Linked DNA regions of Homo sapiens: region 2 is linked to region 1. The links are contacts of gene promoters, found by promoter capture Hi-C in blood cells and fetal thymus (Javierre and others, 2016). All regions are on one chromosome and are shown on one strand. Each heading gives the region's core, a stretch centred on a gene start or on the middle of the fragment in contact. The rest is flanking DNA. Distances are from core to core; before and after follow the strand shown. Region 1 holds the start of INSIG1 (insulin induced gene 1). Region 2 overlaps DNAJB6 (DnaJ heat shock protein family (Hsp40) member B6).

Region 1 (3,712 bases), core at 1,213-3,712:
TAAATAGGTAAAAAACATACTATGAAAAATTTTACTTATGCTCTTGGCTGATGGTTTAAAAAAAAGTAGAATATGAGAGTATGAGAAATTGTCCAGATATTCCTAGAAACCCTTGAGGATCCAATTACAAATACTGAAGGCTAAACTATTTCATTTCTAAGATCAAGTTTTTGGTTAAAGGAAAGAAACTATTCTGCCAAATGTATATGAAACATGGAATTTTAAATCTAGATATAGTTCTCAAAAAATGTTCAATTAGTACAGCCACATAAAGTGTTTCGAAAAACGAAAGAGGATCCCGTCCCTCCGAGAACAAATATGAAAACATTCTACCCACTACTTAATAATTACAGACACCTGTCCTAGTTCTTCAACACGGAGCCCTCTGTTAATCTGCTACAAACCTCTCTGCTGCTTGCTGTTTTCAGTGAGTCAACTGAGGCAATGTGTTTCCACAGTGCAGGAGACACACCTACCAAGGCAGCAGGAGCAGTTACCAACGATGGCTTGGCCCCTTTCTACCTGCGCACCCTTGGATGTGACTTCACCTGTGATTCAGTTGCCACATCTATAAATGAAGCTACACATGGTATTGCTGTAAGGAATGAACACAGCAAAGCATCTGAAGCCTATGGTCAGCAGTCAGCTGACAAACGTCAGCCACAAAGCAAACAGGATGCTCCCTGCACTGCACTGGAGTCACTGACATACTGGTTTGTTTTCCCCACCAGACTCTAAGCTGCTTAAGGATAGGGGCTTGTGGTGCTCACTTTTGGATTAACATTTCAACAGCTTATAGAGTTGAGGTTGCAGAAAGCACCCGACAAGCTCGTTAAATAAACAAATGCTGTGTGACTACAGGAGCAGTAAGTGATCTGCTGAGCCAAGATCAACTCAACATTTCTATAAAAGCGGTTCAATGATAGCCAAGAAAGTCTAGTACACACACCCAGCAGTCCCCGTGTCCACAGTTCAGACTGACTCAGTGTTACGTTGTACAGCATCTATGCTACTGCTTGGGTGTACGAAAATCTAAACGCCGTAAGGGGGTTACTCTTTTCCTTAAGAACGTAATCTACAGAGCTCTAACAGTTCAGGGTGTAGGCGGTTTGGCTTCAGACCACAGTTTACTCAGCGACCCGGCAAAAGGAAGTGCTGAGAAGTTGCTCCCCTGGCAACCGCCTCCTGAACCCATGTGACGGGTTTGTTTTCAGTTATCCAGCAGGGTAGCATGTTTGCTGCCGCGACCAATGGCCTTTCAGTCCCGCTGCTCACCAGTTCCCCAGGCGGCCAATCCGGGGCGGCTGGCGCGGGATGACAGCTGGGGCTGTACCCGGACGCCAGGAGGGAAGGGCCCTCAGTCAGCTTGGCACAGCACCTGCTTGAACAGCCAATTATCTCCCTGCCTCATCTCCATCACTGTGCTTCCTCAAACTTCAGAGAGCTGTGGCCCGAACCCGCCCTCGGGGGTGCCAGGTCCTCTCTACCCCTCCTTCATTTCTCTAAATCCCAAGACTGGAGATGCACACTTTCAATCTGTGGATAGTTCCAGTTTCAAATGCATGTTTCTTATAGGCTGAAAAGTACTTTCAACCGAAAAGACACCCTTTTTACTTCCAGAAGAACCAGGAGGGGTACTCACCAGCTGCTGTCCCGCAGCAGGGAGGGACCCACCAGGCGGAGGAAAAGATGGTGGCGATCACCTCCTCGGGGAAGAGAGTGACATTCCTCTGGATCTGCAGCAGGTTGAGCACCAGGGCTAGGACCACCCCAACCGAGAAGAGCACGAGGCTCCTCTGCAACAGGCGATGATGCCAGGTGTTGGGGTAGGGGCTGCCGGGCTCGGGGCCGCTCATCGCAGCACTGCGGCCCCTGGGCGCGGGGTCAGCGTCCGGGGCACCGTGGGCCGCCAGCAGGGAGGGCCCGGACACGGAAACGTTGATCATCTCCCCAACCTTGGCCGCCAGCCCCGCGGCGCTGGCTCGCGGGGGGCCTCGGCGCCTCGCGCTGTGCGCACAGGAGCAGCTCCAGAAGTGGTCGTGCAATCTGGGCATCGGTCACACGCGTCCAAGAGGCGCTTCCTGGAAGAAGGGGGTCATCAAGTTCACTCAGAAGAGACAAAGAGCGAGGAAGGCCCCGCGGGACGCGAACCCCGGCACCCGGGCCAGGCGGCAGCGCCGCCCCCCAAGGTTAGACCCCCGTGCGCCCGCCCGGGGCCAGCGGCGGACGGGACCCGCGCTCACAGCGAGCAGCATCCCCGGCCCCAGCGGGACCCGCGTCCCAAAGACCCAACAGGGCCCGCGCCCGCCTACCTCCGGGGAGGACCGGCTGCTGCGCGACCAAAGCCCGCCCGCGACCCCTATCCCAGCCGGCCGCGTACCTGGCCGAGAGGCGCCCGCCCGCCGGCTCTCCGAACGGAGGCGGGGCGGGGGAAAGGAGGAGTCACGGCCCGGGACGGCCGCAGCGCCTGGCGGGCGCGCGGGTTTATATGGCGGGCCGCGGGGCCCGCATCACGTGAGCCTGCCCGGCCTACCCACCGCCCGCGCGCACCGCCCAGGGGCGTGGCCTGAGCTTGCCCCGCCCCGCCCGCGAGCCCGTCCGCACGCGGTCTGGTGAGGCGGCCGCAACCAATGGGAGGCCGGCGGCCCATATGACGTGCGCACACGCCACCGCCGGCCCGCGCGCACTCGGGCGGGAGCCTCGGCACGGACTGCGGGGCGCGTGGCGGCTGCGGGGCACGCGGGCCCGAGCGGGACTGGCCGGCTGCGAGTGGGCGGCCGCGGAGCTGGGGCCTGGGAGGGGACGGTCCTGCCGGGAGGAGGCGGAGGCAGGACAGGGTGGGGTTGCGGGCCCGGCGCCGCCCCTCCCGGCTCCTGGCTCCCCTCGCCTGGTGTCCCGCGCCTGGCCGGGAGGCGGCGGGTCTCGATCGCGCGGGCCTCCCTGGAGGGGCGCGGGCTCTGGCGGCGGGGAGGCCCCTGCTCAGCGCAATGGCGGGCTTGCATCCTTGGGTGATTTTTTCGGGCCCCTTGTGGCCTTTGCTCACGCCTAGAGAGCAAACCACCCGCACCACCCAGGAGCAGATAAAATCGAGACCACAGCCTCCAAGGGAGCGCGCCTCCATCCTGTTTGCCCCTCGGGTCGCCGTCTGAGGGCGGGCCCGTGCCCGCTCAGAGCCTACATCCGAGTCGTATAAAGCGCTGACAGCAGAGAAAGCTGCGGCTTTGCTCCGTGCAGATGAGCAGGGGCTGAGGGAGGACGCTGTGCTCTCAGTAGCCGCGCTTGGCCCGGGGACCCTGCAGGCTTAGAAACGTGAGTCACGCCTGCAGCGTGGCGAGGAAACGCCGTTGATGTGGCATCCTCAGCCTGGGGTTGTGGCTTTAAGCCAGAAGGTCAAAAAAAGAAGTCTTCCTGAGCTGAGACTGCCCTGAGTCGCTTTAGGGGCGAAATTCCGAGCATCCGGTTGCATTTCCTGAGGATGACACGCGTGGTGGGTGTGGACGGCCTACAGGGGTCCATCCTCAGCGGCCCCTCTGCAGGGCAGTCTCGCTCTCACTCTCCCAGCTGACTCCTCTCAAGCCTGTTAACCATTGTACACGTTCCCAAGGACTCCAAGCAGGTTGGACTTCAGGGAACATTGCAGTTTGGGTCTTGGCCATTGTTTACACTCCACCTTGCATAAGTGCTTGAGGATCACACAACCAGATACGTAGAT
Region 2 (3,604 bases), core at 877-3,376, 2.0 Mb before region 1:
TAGGATATCTCCAGGAACATGAAACAGGTCAACAGTGATTTATGTCCATACAAAAACATAAAGGGTTTTGTTTGACAAAACACCTCATTAATATCAATACAAAAAAAAAAATCACATTTTTACTAGTTGACTTTTCTGCAGGTAGGCGTTGTCGTTTTTCCATTCCTACATCATCGTTTCTAACATATTCTTGTTTTCACCAACTTTGCTCTTCTTCTCATTAACCTCATTTTTTTGAGTTTGATATTCTCAAATTCTATTCATCCTTGAACTACACCATTTGCTAAATCCTGCCACTGATCCTACTCTTACTCGCTAATGAGCCTGCAGTTACCCGCCTCTCACCACCAGGTGGGGTCCTGCACAAATTTAACCAAACCACATTTTGAACAGAATCATTTCTGAGGAAATGAAAAAGTTTTAAAAAGGTTTCCAAAAAACGCTGTTAATCCAGTGTGTAACCTCGATGCAAATAAATACTAAGAAGTAAAAATCCCGTCAAAACGTCAACTCACAAATACAAAGGCTAATTACATTCTCTTATTCCTCAACAGATATCTGTAAGCATTAACCAATATAGAAGCTGACCTTTACAGCAGACGACAGTAAGGTGTCTGTGCGGTCCCGCGGTGACACCCAGTCCACAGCGACACGTTCAGGATGACTAAAAATACCTGCCCAAGTTATGAAGTGCCCTCTTATAATACTCTTTAAAGTGACAGCCGGACGCGCGGGCTCACACCTGTAATCCAGCACTTTGCGAAGCCGAGGCGGGTGGATCACCTGAGGTCAGGAGTTCGAGACCAGCCTGAACAACATAGTGAAACCTCGTCTCTAATAAAAATAGAAAAAATTAGCTGGGCGTGGTGGCGCATGCCTGTAATCCCAGCTACTCGGGAGGCTGAGGCAGGAGAATCGCTTGAACCTGGGAGGCGAAGTTGCAGTGAGCCAAGATGGTGCCATTATACTCCAGCAGGGGCAAGAGCTAAACTCCATCTCACACACACACACACACACACACACACACACACACACACACACACAAAAGGCCGGGCGCGGTGGCTCATGCCTGTAATCCCAGCACTTTGGGAGGCCGAGGAGGCGGATCACGAGGTCAGGAGATCAAGACCATCCTGGCTAACACGGTGAAACCCCGTCTCTACTAAAAAAATACAAAAAAATTAGCCGGCTGTGGTGGCGGAAGCTTGAAGTCCCAGCTACTCGGGAGGCTGAGGCAGGAGAATGGTGTGACCCCGGGAGGTGGAGCTTGCAGTGAGCCGAGATCGCGCCACCGCATTAATTACGGCCTGGGCGACAGAGCAAGACTCCGTCTCAAAAAAAAAAAAAAAAAAAAAAAAAAAAAAGGTGCAAACAGACCATTCCACCCCCACCTCAGACCTGGATTTAGGTTATCTAGGTTGAAGACTGATGAGGGTGACGGGTACCACTGTCCAAAACAGAGTTAATAGAAGGGAATTACGGGCTTGCTTAAAAATGAAAGCTAATGTACGCCACTCAGTAACAGGTATCACACTGTAATACCATATGCATATTTTAGTCTTCACAACATTCAACACTCCCCACCTAGTGTTCCGGAAAAACTGTCCTACAGCCAGAATTACTTCCCAAACCTAACACTTTCATATCCAGAAGAAAATAAATTTTAAAACACTGTTTTGAAGAGAGTGCTGAACTCATCTCAAATTCTTTAAGAGCTCTGCCCTCTGGAATTCCCAACTTTCTCACCTTCCACAGCACAGATGAAGCCTGGACACTTTCCAAAAGCTTCCCAACCCCTTTGTTCTCCCACTTCCTGTCAAATCTCCACATCTACCAACTTAAGGCAACTTACTTCCCAAATTTCACAGCCTGCGTAATCCACAAAAACCCGCAGCTCGCTGAAGCGTGCATAAAAACTATTCATCCCTTTATCACGGAAGGCAGAAAGAAATGTGAAAGCACAAACTCCAAGGGAGCTTAAGGCCCTCAGGAGTGGAAACAAGTCTGGAGTCGGCGAGGCGCGGTGGCTCGCGCCTCTAATCCCAACACTTTGGGAGGCCGAGGCAGGCGATCACTTTAGGTCATAAGTTCGAGACCAGCCTGACCAACACGGTGAAACCCCCGTCTCTACTAAAAATACAAAAATTAGTCGGACATGGTGGCGAGCACCCGTAACCCCAGCTACTCAGGAGGCTGAGGCAGGAGACTCGCTTGAACCTGGGAGCTGGAAGTTGCAGTGAGTGGAGATCGCGCCACTGCACTCTGGCCTGGGCAACAGAACAGACTCCGTCTCAGGAAAAAAAAAAAAAGGAAGTCTGGAGTAAACCCAGAGAGAACGCGGGACGGGTGGACTGGCGGAGGAGTAAGGCGGCTGCATATAATTCCTTTCAGAAATCATGAATCGTTCTGATACGCAACACTATTTGGAAAAGTGCGGTTAAACACGAAGCAGCAGCAATCAAGCTTTAATGGTTAACGTCTGTTTCCTTTCTTCGGTCTTCACTCTAACTTTTCTACTAAATCAATAATTTGGCTTAAATTGTAGCGACAAATCCTTACTAAAATTCGCAACTCAATAAAAACGTTGAAAACTACAAAGAGCGCCGCTCAGCCTACTCTTCCCAAACAGGCTGAAGCCTCCGAGCTCGCAGGCGGCACCCCTTCGGTGGTGGCACGATCGTTCTACTTGCGCTGTTTCCTGCCCCGTTTACGTGAGAAGTTAGCACAGAAGTTTACGTCTGACTAGCAAACCCATCCTTTAAAAAATTCGCTAGTGCCAAAACCTTTCTCGAGCCAATATATGATTTGCAGTTTACACTGCGTGTGTCACTGACCTTCCTTAGGTAAGAGTTAATGTAAACTTCTTATATAAACTTCAGTTGCATCAACTACGGTGCAGATTCTTTAACGCAAAGCAAAGCAGACAAACATTCTGAGTGAGAAAGGCAGCCTGCTCTTCCACAAACTTCTGAACAATCCGTCCGGAGTTCTAGAAACAGGGCTTTGCGGTCCCCCACCTGCTTCTTCTCCCTCCGAACTTGGCGGCACGGCTGCGGCATTCCTGCTCCGCAAGCCACTCCCGTTTCTGGTTTCAGACGCGAGTGCGGGAGCCTTAGAAAAAGAAGGCGCTCCACGCCTCCCACGCTGCCGGCCCCGCCGAGCCCCAGCCGAGCCCCAGCCGGCCGCTCCCAGGCCGGGCCCCACCCCCAACCGCCGCCGCGGAGGCTGGGCCGCGTTCCGGCAAGGACGCCGGGCGGGGAGGACGCGGCCGGGCGGCCCCAGACCCCAGCCCCGGCCCCGGCCCCAGACCTGACCCAGAGGACCCCGCCCACCCTTCGCCCCGCAACCCCGGCCACGGCCCCCGCCCCGTCCAGTCCTTTCCCCGGCCGGCGACCCCGGTCACCCCCCGCGCTGTTGCCAGGCGCCGGGTGAGGTCCGCCGTCTGCCGGGCGCGCGCGGGGCCCTAGGCGACCTCCCCCGACCCTCGGAACAGACCCTCACCGAGGACAGAAGCGGCCGGTGGCGGGACGCAGGGGAGGCAGGGTGACGGCCCGAATCTCCTCACAGCTCCAGGACTGCTGCGCTGGTGGTGGCGGCGGCTCCT

What was found. Contacts are between HindIII fragments. The CHiCAGO score rates a contact against its expected background, and 5 or more counts as called.
Region 2: a contact is called between a fragment that was not itself captured here and the fragment with the promoter of INSIG1 in region 1, in 1 of 17 cell types (total B cells). The highest score is 6.3, in total B cells.

The regions. Positions count from the first base shown.
Region 1 is chr7:155,296,628-155,300,339 of GRCh38, reverse strand. INSIG1 (insulin induced gene 1) reads right to left here and starts at 2,462. Exons shown (of 6, transcript NM_005542.6): 1 at 2,381-2,462; 2 at 1,643-2,081. The coding sequence starts at 2,054. INSIG1-DT (INSIG1 divergent transcript) reads left to right here and starts at 1,360. Exons shown (of 2, transcript NR_183448.1): 1 at 1,360-2,189. RefSeq lists enhancers at 937-1,006, 3,417-3,466 and a silencer at 2,127-2,956. The HindIII fragment of the contact is 6,135 bases long and covers 1-3,712 here.
Region 2 is chr7:157,337,042-157,340,645 of GRCh38, reverse strand. DNAJB6 (DnaJ heat shock protein family (Hsp40) member B6) reads right to left here. Exons shown (of 10, transcript NM_058246.4): 1 at 3,502-3,604. Among named protein-coding and RNA genes, the nearest start is that of DNAJB6, 1.8 kb to the right of the region's middle. RefSeq lists enhancers at 1-107, 2,410-2,459, 3,188-3,604 and silencers at 3,120-3,309, 3,370-3,579. The HindIII fragment of the contact is 678 bases long and covers 1,788-2,465 here.